Linked DNA regions of Homo sapiens: all the other regions are linked to region 1. The links are contacts of gene promoters, found by promoter capture Hi-C in human tissues and cell types (Jung and others, 2019). All regions are on one chromosome and are shown on one strand. The core of a region is centred on a gene start or on the middle of the fragment in contact, and the rest is flanking DNA. Distances in the headings are between cores, read along the strand shown. Region 1 holds the start of GPR68 (G protein-coupled receptor 68). Region 2 overlaps RPS6KA5 (ribosomal protein S6 kinase A5). Region 3 overlaps CCDC88C (coiled-coil domain containing 88C).

What was found. Contacts are between HindIII fragments. The study calls those that stand out against the background at their distance.
Region 2: a contact is called between a fragment that was not itself captured here and the fragment with the promoter of GPR68 in region 1, in 1 of the 25 tissues and cell types used here (spleen).
Region 3: a fragment that was not itself captured here is called in contact with the fragment with the promoter of GPR68 in region 1 in 1 of the 25 tissues and cell types used here (spleen).

Annotation. Positions count from the first base shown.
Region 1 is chr14:91,242,587-91,246,386 of GRCh38, reverse strand. It overlaps GPR68 (G protein-coupled receptor 68), which reads left to right and starts at 1,683. Exons shown (of 2, transcript NM_001177676.2): 1 at 1,683-2,090. RefSeq lists enhancers at 1,916-1,965, 1,485-1,986, 3,046-3,155. The HindIII fragment of the contact is 47,768 bases long and covers 1-3,800 here.
Region 2 is chr14:91,050,854-91,054,653 of GRCh38, reverse strand. All of the region lies in intron 1 of RPS6KA5 (ribosomal protein S6 kinase A5), which reads left to right. Among named protein-coding and RNA genes, the nearest start is that of RPS6KA5, 7.9 kb to the left of the region's middle. The HindIII fragment of the contact is 3,602 bases long and covers 1-3,598 here.
Region 3 is chr14:91,395,802-91,399,601 of GRCh38, reverse strand. The region is part of intron 3 of CCDC88C (coiled-coil domain containing 88C); the gene reads left to right. The region is part of intron 1 of LOC105370624 (a long non-coding RNA gene); the gene reads left to right. Among named protein-coding and RNA genes, the nearest start is that of CCDC88C, 20 kb to the left of the region's middle. RefSeq lists enhancers at 480-1,111, 1,205-1,274. The HindIII fragment of the contact is 3,448 bases long and covers 124-3,571 here.

The sequences.
Region 1 (3,800 bases), core at 434-2,933:
ATGGTGTAGACGGCCGGTGTGTGCACACCCTGTTAGGACAGGCCACCCCGTAGAGGGCCAGAGGTGCTCTCTCTGGCAGGTTGTGTCCTAGGGGTAAGCCAGGCAGTCACTGCTAAGTCAGTTCTGTGCTCCTAACCCCGCGTCCTCCTATATGACATCAGGGAAAGCCAGCCACACTTCCGCAACTCAGAAGTAGCACGTGTGTCTAAATGCACGCTACTGCACCACAACAAGCTGAAGCCTTTGCTCGTAACATAAGGCCTGCAAGAAGCAACTGACGTAGGAAACTTTTTTTTTTTTGAGACGGAGTTTCGCTTTTGTCGCCCAGTCTGGAGTGCAATGGCATGATCTCAGCTCACCGCAACCTCTGCCTCCCAGGTTCAAGTGATTCTCCTGCCTCAGCTTCCCGAGTAGCTAGGATTACAGGCATGCGCCACCACCCCCAGCAAATTTTTGTATTTTTAATAGAGATGGGGTTTCACCATGTTGACCAGGCCGGTCTCCAACTCCTGACCTCAGGTGATCCACCCGCCTCGGCTTCCCAAAGTGCTAGGATTCCAGGCGTGAGCCACCGCACCTGGCCGGAAATAGTTTTTAAAAGGCCTGCTATGTGGTAGCATTTGCTTGGAGGGCCCAGGCCCCACTGAAGGGGATTTCCTTAGACCCCCTACCAACAGAGTGAGGGCAGTGGAGCCAAGGCTCTTGGCATGAATAAGATGGGCATCAGTGTTTTAAACTGTGTTGGTCCCCAGAGCAGGGACCAAGCACAGGGCTCTGGCCACTTCCAGCAGGAAGGACTCGCACCCCCAGTGGCCCCATGCACCGTATCTGTTGGCTTCCTGGCTCTGGCAACGTAGCTTATAATCAGCTTCCAAGGAGTCTGCCTTGGAGGGAGGTGGTTACGCCAAAATGCTGGGCCTTTCCATCCTCCGTGTTATGTGTGTGAGGGAGGGAGTTTAGTAAGTGCTCCTGAGAGCCAGAAGGGCCCCCGGGGCCAGAGCCCTGGGCTTGATTCCTTCTCTGGGGACCGACACAGTTGAAAACATTGATGCCCGCCCTATCCTTACTGATGCCCAGAGCCTTAGCTCCACTGCCTTCGCTCTGCTGCTCTGCCAAACAGGATCCTACCTGCTTCACCACATCCGTGGCTGCCCACCTTCACTGCACTTTAGAACAGTCCAGGGAGCTTTAGAGCCACTGATGCTGGCACGTCACTTCCAGGAAACATGATTTAACCAGCCCCGGGTGGGGCCCGGGCATTGGTATTTTTTTTGTAGGCTCCCAGGTATGTTCTCATGCACATGGCCAGGGTTGAGCCCCAGTGACCCAGATGTTGGCGGCTTCCCCCACCCTTGCCTGGATCCCGGTATCCTGTAGGTGCTGAAAGGTGGCTAGAATTAGCCCACCCCCTCCTCCTGTATCCCCCCACCACAGTCCTGAGGGCACCTGCCCCTAGCTCAGGCTTTCACATTCCCAGCGAGGCTGCTCACTGACTCTGGGTTGCATGGAGAGCAGAGGAAGATGCGTGGAGAGAGCCATTCCGCCGCCCTCAGCCTCTGGCTGGCGAGTGGTTCCTCGGCAACCGCCCAGCCTGACACCAGATTGGAGTTCACATGATTCTGCCTCAGCTCGGGAATGGGCAGCCTCCAGCTGGGGATTTTCTAGCCGGAGCTGGGAGGTTCAGGCTGCGGGAAGTCGCTGGAGGGAGAGCTGGGATCGTGGCTGCAAGGGTGCCCAGGCTCCTGCAGAGCCTCTGCAGGAAGCCCAGCTGTTTGAGGTTTGAAGGCAGAGCCTAGCTGGGGCAGGCAGAGTCAGAGAGGACTCGTTTCAGAGTCCCCCCTCAGAGGACTCCCTCCATCCTGATTTCAGCAGCTGCCTGCTCCTCACCTGGTTGCAGAGACCACACTGCCTTCCTGGGGCCCTGAGGCTCTAGGAGAAGCTGGAAAGCACAGGTGGGGGTCCATCCAGCTGTTTCCAAACTGCGGGTTGTGACCCATTCATGGGTCAGTAAATCAACTTCATAGCTCATGACCTGCATTTAAAAAATTGAAATAGAATAGAAATGATCAGAGTGCGTGGCAAGAAGTAGGGTAAGTATTGCTTTGGGGAAGTTTGTTGCTTTGTACAGATGTGTGTGTGTGTGTGTGTGTGTGTGTGTGTGTGTGTGTCTGTGTTCTGGGTCGCGATGTCAGGTGTATTTCTTGCTATTGCTTGTGATCCAAAAAGCTCAAAGGCAGCAAGTTGGTGCCTAGACACGTGGGTTCTGGATTCAGATCCACCCCAACTGACTGTGTGAGTTTGAGCCTCCCTGCATTAGCCTCTCTGGGCTTCAGGTTCTGAGAAATGGCTTAGCAATGCCAGCCCACCTGACTCACAGGGACTTCGTGGGCCCAGATGGGACTGACCTTTGAAACAGTGACAAGGGTTCTAGAAGTGAGATGCTATGGTCCACGTTGTTGCTGGAGTGAGGCGATCTGGGGGGAAAATGGGGACTAAGGAAAAATGCATCCTGATGTTTCCCCTCTCCTCAGAGGGAAAAATAAAGCACTTTCAGAAAATGAAACAGCCTTGCTTAAAGCATGCAGAGGTTTGGCCAACTGAAGGAAAAGGAAGCTGGGCCCTGGGGAAACTCCCCAGCTCTTGTGGGTTTGGGGTTCCGTGAGCAGCCCTGGCACCATGAGTAACTGTCTGTGTGCGTGCCGGTGTGTGCTGCACGAAAGGGGGGGCGAGTTAGATCACTATTTATGTGCCAGCTGGAATCCAGCATTTAGGCACCTCCGCCTTCTGACTTGGGACATGCAAGAGACTCCTAGCTTAGTCAGAGAGGCCTTTCCTTCCTGTTGGGAGCTTAATTTCTCTTGGTCATTAAAGTCCTCAGAGACCTCTATGCTGATTTGCATTTGCTAAAGATTTGCTTTCAGGCGTTGAGTCACTCTATAGTTTTTCTCAATTTTTTAGCTGGGTAATAAAGTGTTATTTTGATTCTTTTCTCCAATGCCTTCCCAAACTACGGACTGGCCACGTGGCTGGTTTTCCTCAGTGGGCGTTGAAAACATGGTTGACCTGCTAAAGCATAGTCCAGGTGAAGGGGCCAGGCCAGGACCAAGCCTGGTGGCCATTGCTGCAGCATCTGTGAGGACTGGAGCTTGGCTGAGCTGGGGGCTTGAGGGTGGTGGTTCTGGGATGATCATGATAGTCAGCACAGCATGAAGGAAAGTATGGACCAGTCCGAGTTCCAGACCTGGCCTGCCGCATCTCAACTGCAGAGACTTCAGCAGGTTGGTTCATCTCTCTGAGCCTCAGTTTCTTTATCTGTAAAGTGGGAGCTGATGAGAGTGGTGTTGAAAGAGAGAACAGACATTCAGAAACTTGCCTGGCAAGTGCAGGGCCCTCGACAGATGTGGCTTAGTTCTTCTCTACATCTACGTTTTTCCATTTATGGAATATTTTCGCATCCACTGTGTTCTTTGATTTTTGAGGAGGAAGGTTCCTGTGGAGATGAGGTAGAGGGCAAGTCAGAGTTTCCATCTGGGGGTGCCTGTCCTCAGGGAACAGTAGAAGGGAAGGCACTGGTGAAAAATCAGGACCCTCAGACCAGCTCAGGCAGGCTGAGCAGAGAGGGGACCACGGTGATTCCTCCTCCTCACTTTCCTGTTTCTATTAATGATATCCTCACTGTCCCAGCACCCAGCCTCAACCCCCCACCACTTACCTATCCACTCACTCACCTACTCACCTACTCACCTATCCACCCACCCATAATCCATCTGCCACCCATTCCCTCATCCATCTATCCATCT
Region 2 (3,800 bases), core at 548-3,047, 190 kb after region 1:
TTTTTTTTTTTTTTTTCTGAGACAGAGTCTTGCTGTGTTGCCCAGGTGGAATGCAGTGGCATGATCTTGCCTCACTGCAACCTCTGCCTCCTGGGTTCCAGCAATTCTCATGCTTCAGCCCCCTGAGTAGCTAGGATTACAGGCGAGTGCCACCATGCCTGGCTAATTTTTGTATTTTCAATAGAGACGAGGTTTCACCATGTTGGCCAGGCTGATCTTGAACTCCTGTCCTCAAGGGATCCACCTGCCTCAGCCTCCCAAAGTGTTGGGATTACAGGTGTGAGCCACCGCTCCTGGCCCTAAAAGTCTTTAATGTTGATGAAACCTTTTTTTTTTCTTTTTCATTTTATTCTTGTGTCTAAGAAATCATTGACTAATTCAAGATTATGAAGATTGATGTCTCTGTTTTCTTCTAAGAGTTTATGGCTTTAGCTGTTACATTTAGATCATTGATCCATTTTAAGGTAATTGCTGGATATCATGTGAGGTAGTGATTCAGACTCATTCTTCTGCATGTAAATATCCAATTGTTCCAGCACCATTAGCTGAAAAGACTATTTTTTTCTCCATTTTAATGTCTTGGCACCCTTATTGAAAATCAGTTGACTATAGATGTATGGGTTTATTTATTTTATACTCTCAGTTCTCTTCCAGTGATCTATATGTCTCTCCTTATAGCAGTACCATGCTGTCTTGACTACTACAGTTTTTTAGTAAGTTTTGAAATTGAGAAGTGTGAGTCTTATTCTTCAACATTGTTTTGGTTATTCTGGATTCCTTGTATTTCCATATGGATTCTAGGATCAGCTTGTTAGTGTCTGCAAAGAAGCCAACTCAGTGGCATTCTGATAGGGATCTCATTGAATTTTTAGTTAAACTTTGGCAGTGTTGCCATCTTAGCAATGTTAAGTCGTCTGATCTATGAACATGAGATGTCTTTCCATTTATTTAGGTTGTCTTCAATTACTTTCAACAACGTTTTTCCGTTTAAGGAGTATAAATTTGCACTTTTGTTAAATTTATTTCTAAGTATTTTATTATTTATTTATTTTTTGATGCTATAGTAAAAGGAACTAGTTTCTTACTTTTATTTTTGGATTGTTCATTCCAAGAGTATAGAGGTACAGTTTTTACCTTGTGTCCTGCAACCTTGGTGAACTAGTTTATTGGTTCTAATAGTTTAGTGGACACCTTAGGATTTTCTATTTATAAGATTGTGTTAGCCATGGATAGAGATAATTTTACTTCTTTCTTTCCAATCCAGATATCTTTTGTTTCAATTTCCTGCTTAATTGCCTTGGCCAGAACCTTCACTATGGTTCAATAGAACTTGCAAGAGCAGACATCCTTGTCTTATTCCTGATCCTAGGGTGAAAGCTTTAGTCTTCTACCACTGAGTATGGGGTTAGCTATGGGTTTTTCATAGATGTATTTTATCAAATTGAAGAATTTCACTTCTCCTCCTAGTTTGGGTGTTTTTTTAAATCATGAAAGAGTGCTGGATTTTGTCAGATGCTTTTTTCTGCATCTATTAAGATGACCATTTTTTTTGTTCTGTTCATATGGTGTATTACATTAATTAACTTTTGAATGTTAAGCCAACCTTGTATTCCTGGGATAAATCTTGTTTGTCATGGTATATAATCCTTTTTCTTTGTTGCTGGATTCAGTTTGCTTGTATTTTATTAAGGATTTGTATCTATATCCATAAGAAATCTTTGTAGTGTTCTTTTTTGGTGATACCTCTGTCTAGTCTCCCCAAAATATTCTTGATTGAGTTCTGTCACCAACTAAAGAGCTTTTTTTTTTTTTTTTTTTTTGGAGATGGAGTCTCGCTCTGTTCCCAGGCTGGAGTACAGTGACGCGAACTCTGCTCACTGCCAGCTCTGCCTCCTGGGTTCACGCCATTTCTCCTGCCTCAGCCTCCCAAGTAGCTGGGACTACAGGCACCTGCCACCACGCCCAGCTAACTTTTTTTTTTTTTTGTACTTTTAGTAGAGACGGGGTTTCATCGTGTTAGCCAGGACGGTCTCGATCTCCTGACCTCATGATCCATCCGCCTTGGCCTCCCAAAGTACTGGGATTACAGGCTTGAGCCACCGCGCTTGCCTAAAGATCTTATCTATTTGATTAGTGGTATCCATATTTACAATCTCTTAAGTAAATCTGTTTTTTTTTTTTTTTTTTTAAGAGACGAGTCTACTCTGTTGCCCAGGCTGGAGTGTGGTGCTGATCTCGGCTCACTATAACCTCCGCCTCCTGGGTTCAAGTGATTCTCCTGCCTCAGCCTCCCAAGTGGCTGGGATTACAGGCACCCACTACCATACCCAGGTAATTTTTTTTTTTTTTTTTTTTTTTTTTTTTTTTTAGTAGAGATGGGGTTTTGCCATGTTGGCCAGGCTGGTCTTGAACTCCTTACCTCAGATGATCCATCTGCCTGGGCCTCCCAAAGTGCTGGGATTACAGGCATGAGCCACTGCATCTGGCCTTAAGTAAAGATTTAACAGAGGTAGGGAGTGGACTGTAGTTCTAAGTCAGCCCCTAATTTGCTATATGACCTGGGATAAGTCATTTTGCCTTTCTGAGCCCAAGTTTTTTGATTCATAAAGTAAAGGTGATGGACTGAGTTATAATCAAAGTATTTACGAGCATTAAAGCTCTTCTGTGGCATTTCCATGGAAATTCTGGTATAGACAAAGTTAGTTCCTTGTCTTTTCCCGATCCTAGGGGGAAGGCTTTAGTCTTCTACCACTGAGTATGAAGTTAGCTGTGAGTTTTTCATAGATGTTCTTTCTCAGGTTGACAAAGTTCTCTTCTATTCCTAGTTGGTTTGGGTGAGCTTTTTCTTTTTTTTTTAAATCTTTCGGCCAGACATGGTGGCTCATGCCTGTAATCCCAGCACTTTGGGAGGCCGAGGCAGGTGGATCACCTGAGGTCAGGAGTTCGAGACCAGCCTGGCCAACATGGTGAAACCCCATCTCTAGTAAAAATACAAAAACTTAGCTGGGCACGGTGGCGGGCACCTGTAATCCCAGCTACTTGGAAGCTGAGGCAGGAGAATTGCTTGAACCTGGGAGGCGGAGGTTGCAGTGAGCTGCGATCGCACCATTGCATTCCAGCCTGGGCAACAACAGCAAAACTCTGTCTCAAAAAAATAAAAAAATAAAAGGATGTTTCATGATAAAAAGTCCAGAGTGGTGATTTACTTTATTGTTGTTGTATTTTAAAATTTCATTTTATTGAGACAGAATCTCACTATGTTGCCCAGGCTGGTCTTGAACTCCTGGGCTCAAGCAGTCTTCCCATCTCTGCCTCCCAAAGTGTGGAGATTACAGGTATGAGCCACCATTCCCGGCTAGTGATTTACTTTATTTATTTATTTATTTATTTATTTATTTATTTATTTATTTTTATTTAGACAGGGTCCCACTCTGTCGCTCAGGCTGGAGTGCAATGGCGTGATCTCAGCTCACTGCAACCACTGCCTCCTGGGTTCAAGTGATCCTCCCACCTCAGCCTCCCAAGTAGCTGGGACTACAAGTGTGTGCCACCACACACCGCCACGCTTAGCTTATTTTTGTATTTTTTGGTAGAGGTGGGGTTTCGCTATGTTGGCCAGGCTGGTCTGGAACTCCTGACCTCACGTGCTCCACCTGCCTCGACCTCCCAAATGGCTGGAATTACAGACATGAGCCACCACACCTGACCCTATGATTTACTTTAAAAGATCATCCTGTTTTACCAAAGGATTCATGTTGGATCTGTTGAAAAACAACAGTTCCCTGCTGCTTTTTGAATGT
Region 3 (3,800 bases), core at 598-3,097, 150 kb before region 1:
CCTCCCAAAGTGCTGGGATTACAGGCGTGAGCCACTGAGCCTGGCCTAGGAACCTGAACTTCTAAAAGAGAGAGCTTAGGAAAGAAAACTCCTGCTCCCATTTGGAGAATGCACAGGTGTTGGGAGGGGTTGGCAGGTGGCAGGGCCCTGGACTGTGGCCACGGCAGCAGAGAGAAGGACGAGCTCTAGGAGACTCTATGGGGATCCAGCCCAGATGTGGGAATCCAGGGCTGAGGGGTCCGTGGGTTCCTGGTGTGACTTGGGGTTGGGGCGTTGGTGCTGTTCTCTGGGTGGGCCTGGGGCTCTGGGTGAGGAGAAGTGGGCTTAGTGGGGAGCAAGCCAGCTTGGTGTCACTGGTGTCGGTCAGGTGGATCTGAGCGTTCCTGGCTGGGAATGCAGATGGGAGCCATGGGGAGGTTGGCTCAAGAGTCACAAGCAGGCATGGAGAATGAGAACTGCCCATGGCCAAGGAGGTGGGAGCAGGCCCCAGGGTTAGGGCTGGGCAGAGCACATGGGACTCCCCAAGATGACAGTGAGGAGTCCCCCAAGTGGGAGGACCAGAGGGAGAGTGGTCCGCAGAGAGGAGAACCCCTGAGGAGAGAGGGCACCAGCACACAGGGCTGCCCGAGGCCCAGGAGACCACTCAGCTGTGGGCGGCTCAGTGCCCACCTGGAGCAAGCACCCTAGAGGAGCAGGAACAGCCGTCTGGGCCGAGGAAAGCCATGCTCTGCAGCAGACCTGTGCGCCCCCAGGGCTGCAGGCTGCTGGCAGTAGCTTCCTGATCAGCCAGACAAGAGGGCTGCAGCTCTCAGGGCCACTAGAATCACCCTTTCCACACTTAACAAAAGGCCTGCACTCCCAGCCTGTGGTGCTCCCTGTCCTGCTGGCTCCTGCTGCTTGTATTTCTTTCAATTATTTATTTTACCTTTTTATTTATTTATTTTTGAGACAGGGTCTCACTCTGTCACCCATGCTGGAGTGCAGTGGCGCGATCATAGCTCATTGTAACCTCAAACTCCTGGGCTCAAGCAATCCTCCAGCCTCAATCTACCAAGTAGCTGGGACTACAGGTGTGCACCACCATGCCCAGCTAATTATTTTTGTATTTTTTGTAGAGATGGGGTCTCACTGTGTTGGCCAGGCTACTCAAACTCCTGGGCTCAAGCGATCCTCCTGCCTTGGCCTCCCAAGGTGTTGGGGTTACAGGCGTGAGCCACCATGCCAGCCAGTGTTGGTGTTACAAGCTCAGTGGTTCAACTGTTGGCCAGGGGTGAAGCAAACGGGCTGAGGACCTGGTGGTGTGCTGAACGCCCAAACCTCTTGGGAGGCAGATTTGGTTTCTGTAAGCTGTTAGAGTGCCAGTTGGACTTGTTTTCCTTTCTTTTCTCTCCTTTTTGTTGTCAGAAGAAATGCTGTCCAGGCATATCAGATAGCAGCGAGGAACTGTGGGACTCAGATCTGTGCCCAAATCAAAAGGCTGAGAGATGAATGGGAGGGAGCTTAACCTTTACTGAGTGCCCATGCTGGGGGCTTTAGAGCCTCGTCATTTTTCACTGTTACTTCGGTATTATAAAGAAGAAATTACTGTCTCCATTCGATAGATTAGGAAACCAAGGCTCATGGAGCAAGATCAGGAAACAGCCCCGGAAAGCTGCAAGTTTTCTTCATCATCAGCTGCTTGGAGAAGCTTCTTTCTAAAAGCCAGGCTTTCTAGAATCATGTAGGGAGGTAACTTGCTGCAGGTGGACGTGCTGTCCTGTAAAGGCTGGCAGGGCCAGTCAGGATCTGCACCCGCAGTGGGGTGGGGGTGCTGCGTGTGGTGTGCCCCCCAGCTGGGAGTGTGGGCTCCCGTGATAACCCGGCTTCACACCAGCCTGGAGCCCAGAGGAAGGGACCGGGTTGCTTCAGGCACCTCTGAAACTTCCGGGGTTGGGCGGAGGGTGGAACAGGGAGCAGCTGGCCTCAGACTTCACCCCTCACCCCAGAGCGGCAGGAAGCAGAGATTCAGGGTTAATTGCAGGTGTTGCAGAGGGCGAAAGGTGGGTTTGATGTAATTAGCAGAGTTGGAGTTCAGCCAGGGCAAGGAGATGGAGAGAATGTGTGTGTGTGAGTATGAGTGTGAGAGTGTGTGAGTGTGAGAGTGTGTGTGAGTGTGTGTGTGTACACAGTCTTTCTGTTCTCTGAGGCTTCCTTCTCTAGGACTTGAGTCAAGACCTTGATTTGCTGGGGCTTTTCTCCTGTTTCAGGAGCGGCCATCATTTCCTCAGCCTTTGCGGGAAGGAGGTTTGGCTCAGGAGTCTTGCTTTCACTCCTGGTGTTGGGGATGCCACCCAGGCCCCTGTGGCTGTCCCCTTGCCTGGGCCTGTTGGGCACAGCACCGAGCCCAGATGCTCAGAACATGCAGCCTCACAGGGTCTGCTTGGAGACCTGCCCACCTCTGGACATTGACACATCGGGACTTCCCCCAGGCCCCTCTCCCTCCCCTATTGGTGTTTGTTCCAGAATCATGTTTCTGATACAGGTTATCTTACCATGTCAAGTATTGATTTTTTCACCGTTTGCTCAAGTTTTTTTCTTTCTTTCTTTTTTTTTTGGTGACAGGGTCTTGCTCTGTGTAGCCCAGGCTGGAGTGCAGTGGTGCGATCACGGCTTACTGCAGCCTCGACCTTGACCTGCCAGGCTCAAGCAATCCTCCTGCCTCAGCCCCCCGAGTAGCTGGGACTACCAGCATGCACCACCACTTCTGGCTAATTTATGTTTCTGATTTTTTGTAGAGACAGAGTCTCCCTGTGTTGCCCAGGCTGGTCTCGAACTCCTGAAGTTGTTTCTTAATTCATGGCCATTTATTTACAGAGATGTGTGTTTATGAGCCCATCTTGGGGAGCACAAAGTAAGCAACAAAGCTTCTGGGAGTGGAAGCTGAGTGATCCCCTGATCGGAGGGCAAGGGGTCTGAATTTGTGCTTCCGGAAAAATTATGGCTGAAACGATGAATGTTAAGCTTGCAGAAGCCGCGAGTGAGCTGTGCTTGGTGTTCCCGGTGCTTGTCGGGCTCATTCTTAGTTAGCTCTCGTTCAGCTCCGATTGAAAGCTGCACTTGTGGGTGATGAGTGTTGTGGGAATCGAGTGATGCGGGCGTGAATGAAGGTTGGAAACACAGCTCACTTTATGGACATACCCTAAACGCCAAAGTGGGAGGAAGTGGCAGGAGGAACCAGTTCCTTTTGTGACAGAAAGGAGAGAAATGGATTTCTCAAGTCGTTAAAAAGAAAAAACAGAGGTTTCTCCTTTGCCTTGGGTTTGGTGTTAGATGCCAGGATCAGCATGTTTGATGTTCTCACTGGTTTGTCAAAAGGAGTTTCTGAAGAAGAACTTGCCCAGGCAGGCTCTGCCTCTCCGTGAAGCCGGCTGCGTGGCTCACCTCCAGGGCTCGTAACAGTTTTTGTTATTCAGCTCTTCTTTGGGGAATGGCAGAGATTCTCTGCTGCTTCGCCTTGGCATCCAGGGCCCCTTGATCCTTCGAGATGTAATTGTCGCGATATAATTGTCGTCTTATTTTTCTAGTAATGAGAGGAATGTCGAGGGAAGGAGGATGAGGAAGTGCTGGTCTTAAATTGGTGGTTTCAGCCAGTACTGTAAAAGTTGAAGGGGCCGCACTCTGTACCCCCAGTTCTGAGTTGGTGGTATTTAGGGGGGAGGCAGAGATTTCAGATAAAGAGTCAAGGCTGCCACGTTCCACTGGGAGGGTTCTATTGGTTTGGGATTGGGTTTCGGGGAGGCTAAGGGTTGAGGGGTGGTAAT